Linked DNA regions of Homo sapiens: regions 2 and 3 are each linked to region 1. Evidence: promoter capture Hi-C in 16 types of primary human blood cells and fetal thymus (Javierre and others, 2016). All regions are on one chromosome and are shown on one strand. Each heading gives the region's core, a stretch centred on a gene start or on the middle of the fragment in contact. The rest is flanking DNA. Distances are from core to core; before and after follow the strand shown. Region 1 holds the start of VWA1 (von Willebrand factor A domain containing 1). Region 2 holds the start of TNFRSF18 (TNF receptor superfamily member 18). Region 3 has its middle 9.8 kb from the start of SSU72-AS1.

Region 1 (4,400 bases), core at 559-3,058:
GCAAGGCAGGTGGCTGAGCTCGGCCCAGGCTGGGTGGAGGCCAGGCCTCCTGTGCCTTCTCCCGCTGATGGCGAGCTGAAGGGAGGAGGGCGGCCGCTTCCTTGAGGGCCTGAGTCACAGCCAAGAAGACCCGCTCACTTTTTCCAGAAGTGAGGGAAACTTCCCCGTCAGCCCTGCAAGGCTGGCTGAGGTGTGACTGTGGCCCGCCTGCTGGGCGAGGGTGGGGGACAAGCGGGCCACTGGCTGTGAGCCTCCCCAGGGTGGGGGACCCTCGGCCCAGCTCCCTGCCTGACTACCTGGACGTGCCTCCGCAGGGTCTGCAGCCAGCTTCCGGTCAGACCCCAGGTCCTCCAGCGGCTGCGGCCTTCAGCGTCATCTCCACGGCAGCCCCTGTGTACTGGGGGCTGGGGGGCCTGGCGAGGCCCCTCGAAGTGGTACAGCTTGCACTCTGGGGACCCAAAGTCCCCCCACCGGGCCCAGGCGGAAGCACCAGGCATTTCTGGTCCCAGCCGAGGTCTGAGGTCTGTGGAGCGCAGCCAGCACCTCCACTGCCAAGATCCCCGGCAGGGGGGGTGGGGGGCGCCGGCGGGGACACAGCTCTCCCTTGTTCCTGCCGCCAGCTCCTCAGCCTCAGCCTGCTGCTTCCTTTTTTAGGCAAAGTCGAGTGCTGGCCGTCCGCACGGCCCCGCGGTGTCTCACCTGCCTGAAAGGGAGGAAGGAAGCCTGTGGAGCCCCATCCGTTCTCCCGCGGCGCATCCTCCAGGAGAGGGTGGGGAAGGAGGAGACATCCTGGCAGACACCCCCCCACGTCCCCCACCTCCCAGCTCTGAGCTGAGGAGGCCCTGGAAGAGGGCCATGGCTACTCCGAGGGAGGGCCGGGGTAGGGTTCTCCTGTCCAGGGGACACTGCTGGCCCAGCCCCACCCAAGCAGGGGAAATCTGCCCTGGGAGCCACTGTCCCTCAGGACGCCCCCTGCAACCAGCCACCTCTCGTCTGGGCCTCACCAAGACCCCAAGACTCAAGAGCTCCTGTCTCACCAGTGGGACCCTCCAGTCCTGCTGGGGGTGTGTCCTGGGTCCTGGAGTCTGGGCCCCTCACTGGGTAGGGTATATGGGTAACAGGCCCAGTGTGGTCCCACTGGACAGGGCCTCAACCAACCATCTCCCACTCCCATGCCTCTTCCTCCAAGAAGCCCAGGTGGCGTGGGTGCTTCGAGTCTCTCTCGAATTCCTGTCTTCTGTCCCCTTTCAAGCCACTGTGTCCTTGTAAGTTCCACCCCATGGTCCTTCCCATCCCTGCTGGTCAGTCCCTGGGATACATGTCCTGTTACTCCAGACACCTATCCGCCTCCAGCGCGGAGGCCAAGGCGAAACCACGGTCTGGACGTGTTTTTTTGGTGCCACCGCCAGCCCCTGGGGTTCTCTTGGGCCTGGCTGCTGGGACCCCAGCACCCAGAGTCACGGCAGTGGTGGGCATGGGGAGGGCCTAGCCTGGTACCTCCCTGCTCGGCTCCCGCGGCTGGGGGTCGGAGAGGGGTGGAGAGCGTGGGCCGCACAGCCTCGGCCGGGAGAGGGAGACTGGAGTGTGTGTGTGTGCGTGCCTGCGCGTGCGTGCCTCGGTCGTATCTCGGCTGGTGCTGCGTGTCCCTGCGTGTCGGGGTCCGCTCGTGCGCGCCTCTCCGGGGTCTGTGCGCGTGGCCCTCCGCTCGCGCCGGAGGGCGTGGGCGTGGCCTCGGCGTGGGTGTGGCCGCTCGGGGAGGGGCCTCCCGGGGGCGGGGCCGGCCTGGTCCGCGCGGTGACGCGCCCTGCAGCCCCGAGCGAGCGAGCGAGCGAGCGAGTTGCCGAGCGCGCCCCGTCCCTCGCGCGCGATGCTCCCCTGGACGGCGCTCGGCCTGGCCCTGAGCTTGCGGCTGGCGCTGGCGCGGAGCGGCGCGGAGCGCGGTGAGTGCGGCGGGCGGCCGGGCCGGGGCTGGGGCTTCTGGTGACCGCTCTGCGCCGCTGCCCGCGCAAGGCCGTCGCTGTCCCCTGCTCCGGACGGGCGGGCGGGCTGGGAGGCTGCGGGAGCCGGGCGGGGGCGCGGGCGGAGCGTCCTGCTCACCTGAGGCTGGCGGCCCAGGTGCTCCAGGCGACACCGTCCGTGAGCGCCGGGGCATAGGGGCCGTCCCGGCCCGCATCTCTGCGGGATCGCGGGCCTGGACAGGAAGAGGGAGATGTCTGTCAAGGGGGCACCCCTGCCTCAGTTTCCCTACCCTTGCGAGGGCCCTTAGTGGAGGGATGGTAGGGAAGTTGGAGTCGCCCCACCGCACTGGGGAAAACCGCAAGGCCGGGACTAGAATTGAGGCACGCTGGTGCCCTGGCTTGGTGGGGAGGGGCGGTGTAGGGGGCATCAGCCTCCACCCCGGAGGTGCCCGGAGGAAGGGGGAAGCCTGCGAGGGGCTGTTCCGGCTTTCAGGCTGCTGGGGGTTATATCTTGTTGTGTGAGTCCAGGTGGGCTGGAGGATGGAGGCCAGGGGAGGGGCCACCATCTAGTAAGCGGGGTCTGGGCTCCAGCCAGGCCATCCGGCGTGGTCATTGCTGTGCCTCCGACACCTTCCCCTGCTGCTGTGTGCATGCCCAGGGTGCCTCACCTGCAGGCTGAGCTGCGTGGCTGAACTCCAGCCTCAGGCTGCTCCTCTGAAAGCCATGCCTGGAGGGAACAGCCCCACGGCTCAGGCCTGTCCTGGGGGCCTAGGCCAGGACTCTTGGCTCCACCTGCTTGCAGGGTCTGTGAGGAATGGGAAGGTGTGGGGGCTTGGAGCGGAGAGTCGCCCTCTCACAGATGGGATAACACAAGCCCAGAGAGAGCCCTAGATCCCATGGCCAGTGTGCAGTGAAACCCCCAAAAGTACAGGCCTCTTGCTTAGAGTTCCTCTTTCCCCCAACCTAGGACCTTTGGGAGAAGGCAAGCATCCACTTAAGGAAAGCTGGGGCCCTGGGGGACCCTGCCTTGCTGTGGGGCTGTCTGGGGGGCCCACACCTGAGGCTGAGCATTCCTCCTTTCCCCCAGGTCCACCAGCATCAGCCCCCCGAGGGGACCTGATGTTCCTGCTGGACAGCTCAGCCAGCGTCTCTCACTACGAGTTCTCCCGGGTTCGGGAGTTTGTGGGGCAGCTGGTGGCTCCACTGCCCCTGGGCACCGGGGCCCTGCGTGCCAGTCTGGTGCACGTGGGCAGTCGGCCATACACCGAGTTCCCCTTCGGCCAGCACAGCTCGGGTGAGGCTGCCCAGGATGCGGTGCGTGCTTCTGCCCAGCGCATGGGTGACACCCACACTGGCCTGGCGCTGGTCTATGCCAAGGAACAGCTGTTTGCTGAAGCATCAGGTGCCCGGCCAGGGGTGCCCAAAGTGCTGGTGTGGGTGACAGATGGCGGCTCCAGCGACCCTGTGGGCCCCCCCATGCAGGAGCTCAAGGACCTGGGCGTCACCGTGTTCATTGTCAGCACCGGCCGAGGCAACTTCCTGGAGCTGTCAGCCGCTGCCTCAGCCCCTGCCGAGAAGCACCTGCACTTTGTGGACGTGGATGACCTGCACATCATTGTCCAAGAGCTGAGGGGCTCCATTCTCGGTATGCGGGAGGAGGCAGGGCCCAGGGAGCCCTAGCTGGGAGCCGCAGAAGGAGAGGCTGGGTTGAGACTTTGGGAAGATCTCATGTCCCCAGAGCAGCGGCCAGGGCCTCCGGGGCTGTGGTACCCCTAGGGTGCAGGGCTGAGTGATGCAGCTTGTCTATGCACACTCTTCACTGGGCGACCCGTGTACCCTGCTGAGACGGGGGCAGGCTTGAGTAGCCACCTCCAGGTGTAGCTCCCTGCTGATGTGTCCAGCCCAGACCTCGAGGCCCCAGGGAGTGCAGAGCCCGGGTGTAGGCCCAGGAAGAAGCTTCCAAGTCTGGGGACTCTGCAGATGGGCAGCATGTGCTCCTGAGCATGCCCACCATACCTGGAGAGGGGTGAGCCAGAAAGGTCAGGGACTGCCCCCCCAGAGAGCACAGGGCACCTCTCCTGGGTGGGGACAGCCGCCGAGGGCTTTGAACTAGTTCGGACTGCAGGCCCACTGTGAGGGTTTCCTGAGAGGCCGGACCAGGGAAGGCCTGAGGCAGGAGCTGAGCAGCTCCCATTGGCTTTTTTTCTGGACCTCCCTGCCCCAGCCAAGCCCTGAAGGAGCTGGGGCTGGAGATGAGGAACCGGCCACTGGCTCAGCCTGCTGCAGCCACTGAAAAATGCCAACCCTGGGGATCTCACCAAGTCTCCGTCTGTGGGTTAATCATCCACCCAGAGCCGGAAGGGGTTGGACTGTGGGTTGGAGAGGGGTGGACGGCCCTCCCCAAGGTTTCCCCAGGGACGTCTGGCCCCTAGTGGCCCCAGG
Region 2 (4,400 bases), core at 1,346-3,845, 230 kb before region 1:
CCATGCTCCCACCTCCCCGCACCAGGCTGTGACAGACCTCGGGGCCACATGCACTGACTCCTCAGCTGCCAGATGTGCAGTCCAAGCTGGGCCGAGGTCAGGAGGAGGACGCAGGCGGCCACGGCCAGGAGGACGACGGTCAGCCACCCAAGCGGCTCTGCCGGCGGGGACCCTGGGACGCACACAGCGTTGTGGGTCTTGTTCCCAGGGAACACAGTGAGAAACCCGAACTGGGTGCAGCTGGAATACATGGACGCGGCCTCCTATCAGCCCCCGGACACGGCCTCCGATCAGCCCCCGGCTGCTGCCCTCCGTGCTGTCTGGGGCAAGGGACAGGAGAGGACCCTTCCTCAGAGTGGGCCTGGACCACCCGGCCACCGGCAGGGCCCACCCAGGACTCACTCTGTCCAAGGTTTGCAGTGGCCTTCGTGGCCCCCGGAGAAGGTCCCCGAGGCACAGTCGATACACTGGAAGCCAAAACTGAATTTCCCTGGTGTGGGGTGTGGGGGGAGGGAGGGAGGGAGGCTGGTGGAGTTGCTGGGATGGATGAGGAGGGCGTCAGGCCAGTGCAGGGGTCCATCTGGGGTCTGGGTGCTGAGTAGAATGCCCCCCCCATCATCCATTCAACAGAGTTCTTCATGGCCCAGGACTGGGGCCCATGTCTGCCCGTCCCAGGTGGGGCGTCTGGGGTGGGGCCCAGTGAGGGCACCTGGGGGAGGTGCGCAGAGTGCAGTGGGCCTGCCAGGGAGGGGAAAGGCCTGCCCATTGGGGGCTGAGGGTGGGCAGAAGCCAGGCAGGACCCAGTAGAACAGAGGGTGGAGAACAGTGAGGGTCCCAGAGAGAGTGAGGCTGGGTCCCAGTTGACCCCAGACCCTGCCCCGTCCAACCTGACACAACCTCCCCAGTTGTACCTTCTCCCAGCTCTCATGTGCCCAGCCTGACCTCTCCTGTCAGGTAAACAAGCCGCTAAGAGGACTTGAGCTGCTCCTTCCAGAACAGGGTGCAGCCCCAGGCCCCAGACAGGACTCCGGGGGGCACAGGGCAGGCTCTTTCAGTATGTGGTGAGGACAGACAGGATGGGTGTCCCGGGCCTGAGAGCCAGACAGCTCCTGGAACCCGCCCCCACCTCCCCGCAGGGTTCTCACAGCCCTCGTGCTGGATGGAGAAGCCCAGGCTGAGAAAGCAGGGACAGGACACCCCCAGAGCTTCATGGCCTGTGGTGCCTGAGCATGGCCTGGCCTGCCCGGCCTCACAGGACTCCGGACCCCACACACCACATGTCCTCGCCGGACACCTGTGCCCACGAGCTCTGCCTCGGGCCCTAGTGGAACCCCTGGCCTGTGTGGACTCCCAGAGGCACCTCCAGGACTTACCCTGGGACTGTACCCCCTGGCCTGGGGGACAAGGGTGGTGCCGGCAGGTCGTGCAGCAAGGGTCTCCGCAGTGGAATTCAGGCTGGACACACATGCAGTCCCACTCGGAACAGCACTCCTCGCCTGGGCAGGAGACAGGCCAGCCCCCCAGCAGCTGGGCTGAGGCCCCCTCCTCCCCAGGCCTCCCCTCGGCCCTCCAGGGGAGTGAGGTTGTCCGTTCTCCACCCACAGTTGGCTCCAGGGAGCAGAGGGCTCCTGGCTGGGAGTCTGGACCCTGGGTTTATCCAGCTGTCTCTTTCTCCTGGGGCCATGTGGCCTGGCTACTCCCCCTTTGCGCCCCACAGCTGCCCCTGCCCAGGTGCTAACTCCATATGCAACCAGGAGCTGCCCCTGCAGGACCCAGGGGTGGCCCCCAACAGTGCACAGTCCCCTGGAGGCCCGTCGACACCTCAGAGGCCGCCTGCCTGGTGTCTGGGCGCTGCTGTCCCCACCACCAGCCACACTGGGCCTCCGGACAGAGCCTCCCTTCCCAACCCACAGGCCCTGGAGGAAGAAGCTCTGGGGTGACTTCCCTGCCAGCTTCCTCTCCAGACCAGCCGTGTCAGCTGAACCCTCATCCCCAGGTGCAGGTCAGAGGCAGGCAGCAGGCCAGACGGTGGTGCAGGGGGGCCCTCAACTGGGCAGGAGGGGGCTGGGCGATGGCCAAGGGCTCACGACCCGCCCAGCAGGACCTGGAACAGCCGTCCTCCACCTCCAGACCCCAGACCCCTCTTGAGGGCGCTCCCACCTGGCTCACCCCTGCTCCCGGCCGGGGCCACTGGCTGGAGCTGGCACACCTCCGCCTCCCTCTGGGATCCTGCCTCCCTCCGGAAGGCTCCCGCTGCTGGCGGCTCTGTGCCCACCCTCCTTAGACCTCAGCAACGCCGGTCTGAGCACGGGAAGGGGGGCGCCCACCCATCCCGGCTTCCGCGGGACGCCTTGGCCGGTCCGCGTTAAGTAAACGCGGTTTACTTACCCGGGTAATCGCGGCAGCAGCGCGTCGTGTGAACCCGGCAGCAGCGCGCGTCCGTTCCCGTCCCAAGCAGGAGGCGCCCAGGGCCGCACCCGGGACCCCCGGTGGGGCGCTGACCCAGGCTGAGCGCGCACAGCAGCGCCAGGCCGCACAGGGCCCGAAACGCGCCCATCGCCCCGTGCTGTGCCATGCTCGGGTTTCAAGAGCCCACAGCCAGTTGGACACGCCCCGTCCCCGTCCTCACCCGCCCTGCCCGGAGGTGGCTGGGACCGTTCATGACCTGAGAATCCCGACCCAGGTGAAGTGCGTGTGAGGAGGGGGTGTAGACACTGCGGACACAGCCCGGTCCCCCGCAGGTCGCCGGCAGGGGCGGGGAAACCAGGCTGGCGGGGATCAGAAAGGTTTTCTATGCAAAGTCTGCGGCCACATTGGTGTCCCCAGTGCAGGGGGCGGCGTTTATAGCACCTTGTCCCATGGGGGCCCCTTGGAGGGCGGGGGTCAGCCAATCACTCCTCCATCCCACTGCCTCCGGGTGGTATCTGCGAGTCCCCGAGAGGTCTCCACAAATTCTGGCCACCCCCAGAGAGCCTCAACCATGGAGCCCCGTGCTGGGGAACCCCACAGAATGGGGACAGGGACCCCTCGGCTCAGCACACCCCACCTGGCTGGCTTCAGGTGTGAAACTCACCATGGGCTGCAGGCCTGTGGGCTCCCCTCCCCCTTGCTTGCAGCTCTCCAGGACCCCCCTCAGGCCAACCTGGGAAGTTCCCCGGGGCTTGGGAGGGGCACCAGGAGGAGCTGGTGGGGAGACGAGAGGGTGCTGGCGCCTCCTCGGGACAGTGTCAGCCGCCCCCGCGGGCACCCAGGGCCCGGTCTCTCAGAGCCACCTTCATCCGTCACACCAGACAGATCCAGGTCCCGGAGGGAGTTGAGGAGGAGCCCCTCGCAGAGCTCTTGGGAGACTGTCCTATGTCTTTCTGAGCCTCAGTTTCCCCTGTGGGCACCGAGGGGTTCTGGGACCCTGCCTCCACCAGGAAGCCTCCCTGGATTGCCCAGCCCTGCTTCTGCGCCGTCCAGCACAGGTGGAGACCCCCATGAATGCTGGGGGTGGGGGCTCTCGGGAACGTGAGCGTGGATGTGGTTCAACACCCTTTTGAGACCTGCAGCCACCGCCTCACCCCGTAAGGCGGTTCCTCCTTTTCCAAGGTAAATGACAGGAATTAGCTGTTTGTGACACCCCGGAGTTCTCAAATCCAAGATGTAGGAGCCTGCCTTGGAGAGGCAGCCCTCAGACACTGCAGAGAAGGAAGGGGTCTCTGCAGCTCCAGGCCGCCCCGACGCTCGGAAGGAAAGGGGTGGGGCCAGCTGGGCCTGGGGGCCTTTGAGAGGCCTGGAGATCTTCAGCCCCGAGGCTGGGAGGGGGTCTGGGCCCCTGGATAGAAAGAGGCGCCATCAGTGGCTCACGCCCGTAATCCCAGCATTTTGGGAGGCCGAGGTGGGCCTCGGATCACCTGAGGTCAGGGGTTCGAGACCAGCCTGACCCACATGGAGAAAGCCCGTCTCTACTAAAAATACAAAAAAAATTAGCCAGGCGTGGTGGCGCACGCCTGTAATCCCAGCTACTCGGGAGGCTGAGGCAGGAGAATTGCTTGAACCTGGGAGGCAGAGGTTGCGGCGAACCAAGATGGCACCATTGCACTCCAGCCTGGGTGACAGAGCGAGACTCCATCACAAAAAATAAAGAATGCTCATCAGACCACACGGTGTGAGTCATCCATCTAGAGGCAGGGACAGAGTTAGAGGAGCGAGCAGTTTATGGGGCCAAGTGGGAGGCGGCCAGCGGGCAGAGGAGCCCCTCCCCCCCGCCCCGTGGCGCAGCTGACACTTTGAACAGCCGGAGAGCAGCTTGCCACACAGGGTGGTCCCCGGAGGGGCTGCAGGGGTGTGACGTCCACCCTCCCATCCCTCTCGCCGCAGAAGGCCCCTCCCCGGCTCCCCGTGACTCCTATCCTTGG
Region 3 (4,400 bases), core at 553-3,052, 150 kb after region 1:
TGATTTGGGGTTATGTATTCACATGTTTCTCCACCTCTCCCTTTCCCCCAGGACTCTTGGCTTTCAGAAGCCCCTCTGGAACATCCCACCCAGTAAAACCCCATCCCACCAGTGCAGAAAACATGGTGCCCCTATTATAGTGGATCCAGCCTTGAAGAGGCCTCACCCTGCCTCAACACCTCTTCCCCAAGACCCTGACGGCCAGGACAGTGTCTTTTTGCCTTCAGACTAGGCAGAGTGAGGTCCCCTGAGAGAGATAAATATTGTTATTTCCCCACCCAAAGTTATTTGCATTAGGTGAAAAATGGCCACACATTCTTTGTGGTTCCTCTCATCAAGACATACGGTCTCTTTCTCATCCCTTGAATCCGGGCAAAGCCTTGTGATTTGCTCTGATCAAAAGAACTTAGTAGAACTGACGTTGTCCCAGCCCCAGTTCCAGGCCCAGAACCCAAGAAATCTTGCAGCTTCTACTCTCACTCTCCTGGAGCCCTAAGGCTGAAGCAGCCTGCTAGACAGGCCACCCCAACCAACAACCTGTCACCTGCCAGACAAGTGAGTCAGGCTGTCCTAGACCATCCAGGTGTAGCGGATGTGACAAATGACCACAGCTCCATGAGGGTCCGCAGGTGAGCCCAGTGCAGATTGCCAACCCACAGAATTGTGGACAAATACGTGACCTGTTTTTGCTGCCAAATTTTGGGATGGTCTGTTACACAGTGAAGGCTAGCTGATACGCAGTTCCTCATTTCTCCTCTGGTGATGAGATCCACTTTCATTTCAGGAGGCAGTGTGCCAGTCTCAGTAGATGGAACACAATCCACAATCGGTCTATTCAACCATGACAATTTTATTCCCTACTGTTGGGGAAGTGTCTCGAGTCAGACCCTCCCCACCAAGTGCAAAGAGAACGCATCTCAGCTATCCCTTCTGCCAGCCCAGCCTACGGGGGCCAGATGTATCTTCTGGGCTCTTAGAAGTGTCAGTCGGTGCCATGGGGACTGCTCCTACAAGTCTGGCGTGGATGCCCCCAGGTACACCCTGAGGTCCGAGAGGGTGGACTGCACAAGCTTGTCCAGGATGGCCCTTGCTGCAGCTACCGGTAGGCTGCGTGCCAATAACAGCCGCCAAAGGAGTAGAAGTAATCACCAACCTGGGTCCCTTTGATCCAGGACATCCGTGGGGCACACTGTCTGGGTCTTCCTAGGTCATGTCCACGAGGTTCTGCGTCTCGGCTGGGCCCAGCACAGATGGTGGCAGCTACGTGAGCAGCTCAGTGGCACGCCGTGCACCTGGGAATGCAGCCCGACTGGGCACTCCCGCCCTGCACACCGTTGCAGGGCCTGGGACCCGGGGCTGCCCCAGCCCACATCCACCCTGCCCGATCGATGCTCCTCCTGCACACAGCCCCGTTACCACTGCCACTGCCCCAAAGCATAAAAATTTTTTTTTTTTTTTTGAGATGGAGTTTTGCTCTTGTTGCCCAGGCTGGAGTGCAATGGCATGATCTCAGCTCACCACAACCTCTGTCTCCCGGGTTCAAGCAATTCTTCTGCTTCAGCCTCCCGAGTAGCTGGGATTACAGGCATGCGCCATTAATTTTGTATTTTTAGTAGAGATGGGGTTTCTCCATGTTGGTCAGGCTGGTCTCAGACTCCAGACCTCAGATGATCCGCCCGCCTCGGCCTCCCAAAGTGCTGGGATTACAGGCGTGAGCCACCGCGCCCGCCAATTAATTTTTTTTTTTTTTTTTTGAGACGGAGTCTCGCTGTGGCCCAGGCTGGAGTGCAGTGGCGCAATCTCAGCTTACTGCAAGCTCCATCTCCCAGGTTCACACCATTCTCCTGCCTCAGCCTCCCGAGTAACTGGGACTACAGGCACCCACCACCACACCCGGCTAATTTTTTGTATTTTTAGTAGAGACGGGATTTCACCGATTAGCCAGGATGGTCTCAGTCTCCTGACCTTGTGATCCACCCACCTCAGCCTCCCAAAGTGCCAGGATTACAGGCGTGAGCCACCGTGCCCGGCCAGTTTTGGGGTTTTTTTGTTTTTGTTTTTGTTTTTGAGACAGCGCCTTGCTGTGTCGACCAGGCTGGAGTGCAGTGGCATGATCTTGGCTCAGTGCAACCTCTGCGTCCCGGGTTCAAGCAATTTTCTTGCCTCAGCCTCCTGAGTAGTTGCAATTACAGGCGTGTGCCACCACGCCTGGCTAATTTTTTGTATTTTTAGTAGAGACGGGGTTTCACCATGTTGGCCAGGCTGGTCTCGAACTCCTGACCTCGTGATCCTCCCACTTTAGCCTCCCAAAGTGTTGGGATTACAGGCGTGAGCCACCGTGCCTGGCCACCCATCAGTTTTAAAATGTGCCTGAGTTAGAGCAGAACAGAAGCTGAGAAAAATTAAAAAGAAAGATAAATAAGTACAGTTTGCCCAAGTTGGGCCATAATATAGCCTGCTGGAGAACCAAAAAATCTGCTGTGACTTAATGTTTGAGAATCCCATTTCATTTCTTCTTATTTTCTGAAGAGCAAAGAAGCTTCCATAGATCCTATCAGGAATTGTCAAGCACATGGACCACTGTTTCAGATGGTGGCGACAGACCCAGTAACTTTCGTTGTTGTTTTGTTTTCTTTTGAAACAGAATCTCACTCTGCAGTCCAGGCTGGAGTGCAGCGGTGCAATCTTGGCTCACTGCAACCTCTGCCTTGTGAGTTCAAGCGATTCTCCTGCCTCAGCCTCTAGACTAGCTGGGATTACAGGTGCATGCCACCATGTCCAGCTAACTTTTTTTGTTTGTTTATTTGTTTGTTTGTTTGTTTTGAGACGGAGTCTTGCTCTATTGCCCAGGCTGGAGTGCAGTGGTGCAATCTCGGCTCACTGCAAGCTTCACCTCCCGGGTTCATGCCATTCTTCTGCCTCAGCCTCCCAAGTAGCTGGGACTACAAGTGCCCGCCACCACGCCTGGCTAATTTTTTTTTTGAGATGGAGTCTCGCTGTGTCGCCCAGGCTGGAGTGCAATGGCGCAATCTCAGCTCACTGCAAGCTCTGCCTCCCAGGTTCACGCCATTCTCCTGCCTCAGCCTCCCAAATAGCTGGGACTACAGGCACCCGCCACCACGCCCGGCTAATTTTTTGTATTTTTAGTAGAGACAGGGTTTCACCGTGTTAGCCAGGATGGTCTCGAACTTCTGACCTCGTGATCCACCTGCCTCGGCCTCCCAAAGTGCTGGCATTACAGGTGTGAGATACCGCGCCCAGCCAAGACTCTTTTTTTAAAAACAAACAAGCAAACAAAAATTATCTGGACATAGTAGAACCAGCCTGTGGTCCCAGCTACTGAGGAGGCTGAGGTGGGAGAATCGCTTGAGCCTGGGATGTTGAGGCTTCAGTGAGCCAACACTGTGCCACTCCACTCCAGCCTGGGCAACACAGAGAGACCATGTCTTAAATAATAATAATAATAATAATAATAATAAAATGCAATTTTAAAAAGAGGGAAGCACAGCCACAGAAGATTCTCCAAGGCAGAGCATGCGAACCACGGAAGCAGAGAGCCCATAGGGCTCGGCGAGCATGGGGCACTGGCTCCAAGAACCGCCAGTTCCTTCTTAAAGTGACCTTCCTTCAGGTCCTGTTTCAGAGCATCATTTATGTCAAACTAAATAACAGAGAGGGGTTCTCTAGCAGAAAATGATATTTATTCGAAGAGGACAGCCAGAAGAGGAAGAGGGCAGGGAGGCGACCAGGATGACCAGCTGCAGAGAGGAGTACCTTCTCCTCTGTCCTCCGCTGAGAGCTGCCCAGACAACCTGTCAGCAGAGAGGAGCTACCTCTACCCTGTCTGTGGAGAGCCTGAGACCTGCGGAGACATCCAAACGACTTCCTGTGGAGAGGAGCCGCCCTCTCCAGCCTCCTGTCTGCCAAGAGCTCAACACTCACCGGGAGGATGCTGTTCTCACATTAAATAAACTCTTCTTTTTCTTTTTTGGGACGAGGTCTCACTCTGTCACCCAGGCTGGAGTGCAGTGGCGCGATCTTGGCTCACTGCAAGCTCCGCCTCCCGGGTTCATGCCATTCTCCTGCCTCAACCTTCCAAGTAGCTGGGACCTGGGACTACAGGCGCCTGCCACCGCGCCCGGCTAATTTTTTGTATTTTTAGTAGAGACGGGGTTTCACCGTGTTAGCCAGGATGGTCTCGATTTCCTGACCTCGTGATCCGCCCGCCTCAGCCTCCCAAAGTGCTGGGATTACAGGCGTGAGCCACCACGCCCGGCCTTAAATAAACTCTTCTCCACCAAAAGTAAAAAAGTAAAATATTTATTCAGGAATAGGATTGCAATGGGAACGCGTGTGCCACAGTAAAGTATGTGCATATTCAGGGAGGTAGAAGAAGACAA

The links. Contacts are between HindIII fragments. The CHiCAGO score rates a contact against its expected background, and 5 or more counts as called.
Region 2: the fragment with the promoter of TNFRSF18 here is called in contact with the fragment with the promoter of VWA1 in region 1 in 8 of 17 cell types (neutrophils, erythroblasts, naive CD4 T cells and 5 more); the score reaches 10.7 in neutrophils.
Region 3: a contact is called between a fragment that was not itself captured here and the fragment with the promoter of VWA1 in region 1, in 1 of 17 cell types (M1 macrophages). The highest score is 5.0, in M1 macrophages.

The regions. Positions count from the first base shown.
Region 1 is chr1:1,433,882-1,438,281 of GRCh38, forward strand. It overlaps VWA1 (von Willebrand factor A domain containing 1), which reads left to right and starts at 1,809. Exons shown (of 3, transcript NM_022834.5): 1 at 1,809-1,940; 2 at 3,046-3,603. The coding sequence starts at 1,868. It overlaps LOC107985729, which reads left to right. Exons shown (of 4, transcript XM_017003066.2): 2 at 82-190; 3 at 315-521; 4 at 655-1,668. The coding sequence ends at 1,269. It overlaps LINC01770 (long intergenic non-protein coding RNA 1770), which reads right to left and starts at 692. Exons shown (of 2, transcript NR_125996.1): 1 at 307-692. RefSeq lists silencers at 568-862, 1,609-1,978, 1,737-1,926 and enhancers at 720-1,463, 723-782. The HindIII fragment of the contact is 8,860 bases long and covers 1-3,912 here.
Region 2 is chr1:1,203,997-1,208,396 of GRCh38, forward strand. TNFRSF18 (TNF receptor superfamily member 18) reads right to left here and starts at 2,596. Exons shown (of 5, transcript NM_004195.3): 1 at 2,389-2,596; 2 at 1,374-1,496; 3 at 403-490; 4 at 38-240. The coding sequence starts at 2,575. RefSeq lists silencers at 1,179-1,379, 4,252-4,341 and an enhancer at 4,176-4,400. The HindIII fragment of the contact is 24,444 bases long and covers 1-4,400 here.
Region 3 is chr1:1,582,500-1,586,899 of GRCh38, forward strand. No RefSeq gene overlaps it. Among named protein-coding and RNA genes, the nearest start is that of SSU72-AS1, 9.8 kb to the left of the region's middle. The HindIII fragment of the contact is 1,469 bases long and covers 1,069-2,537 here.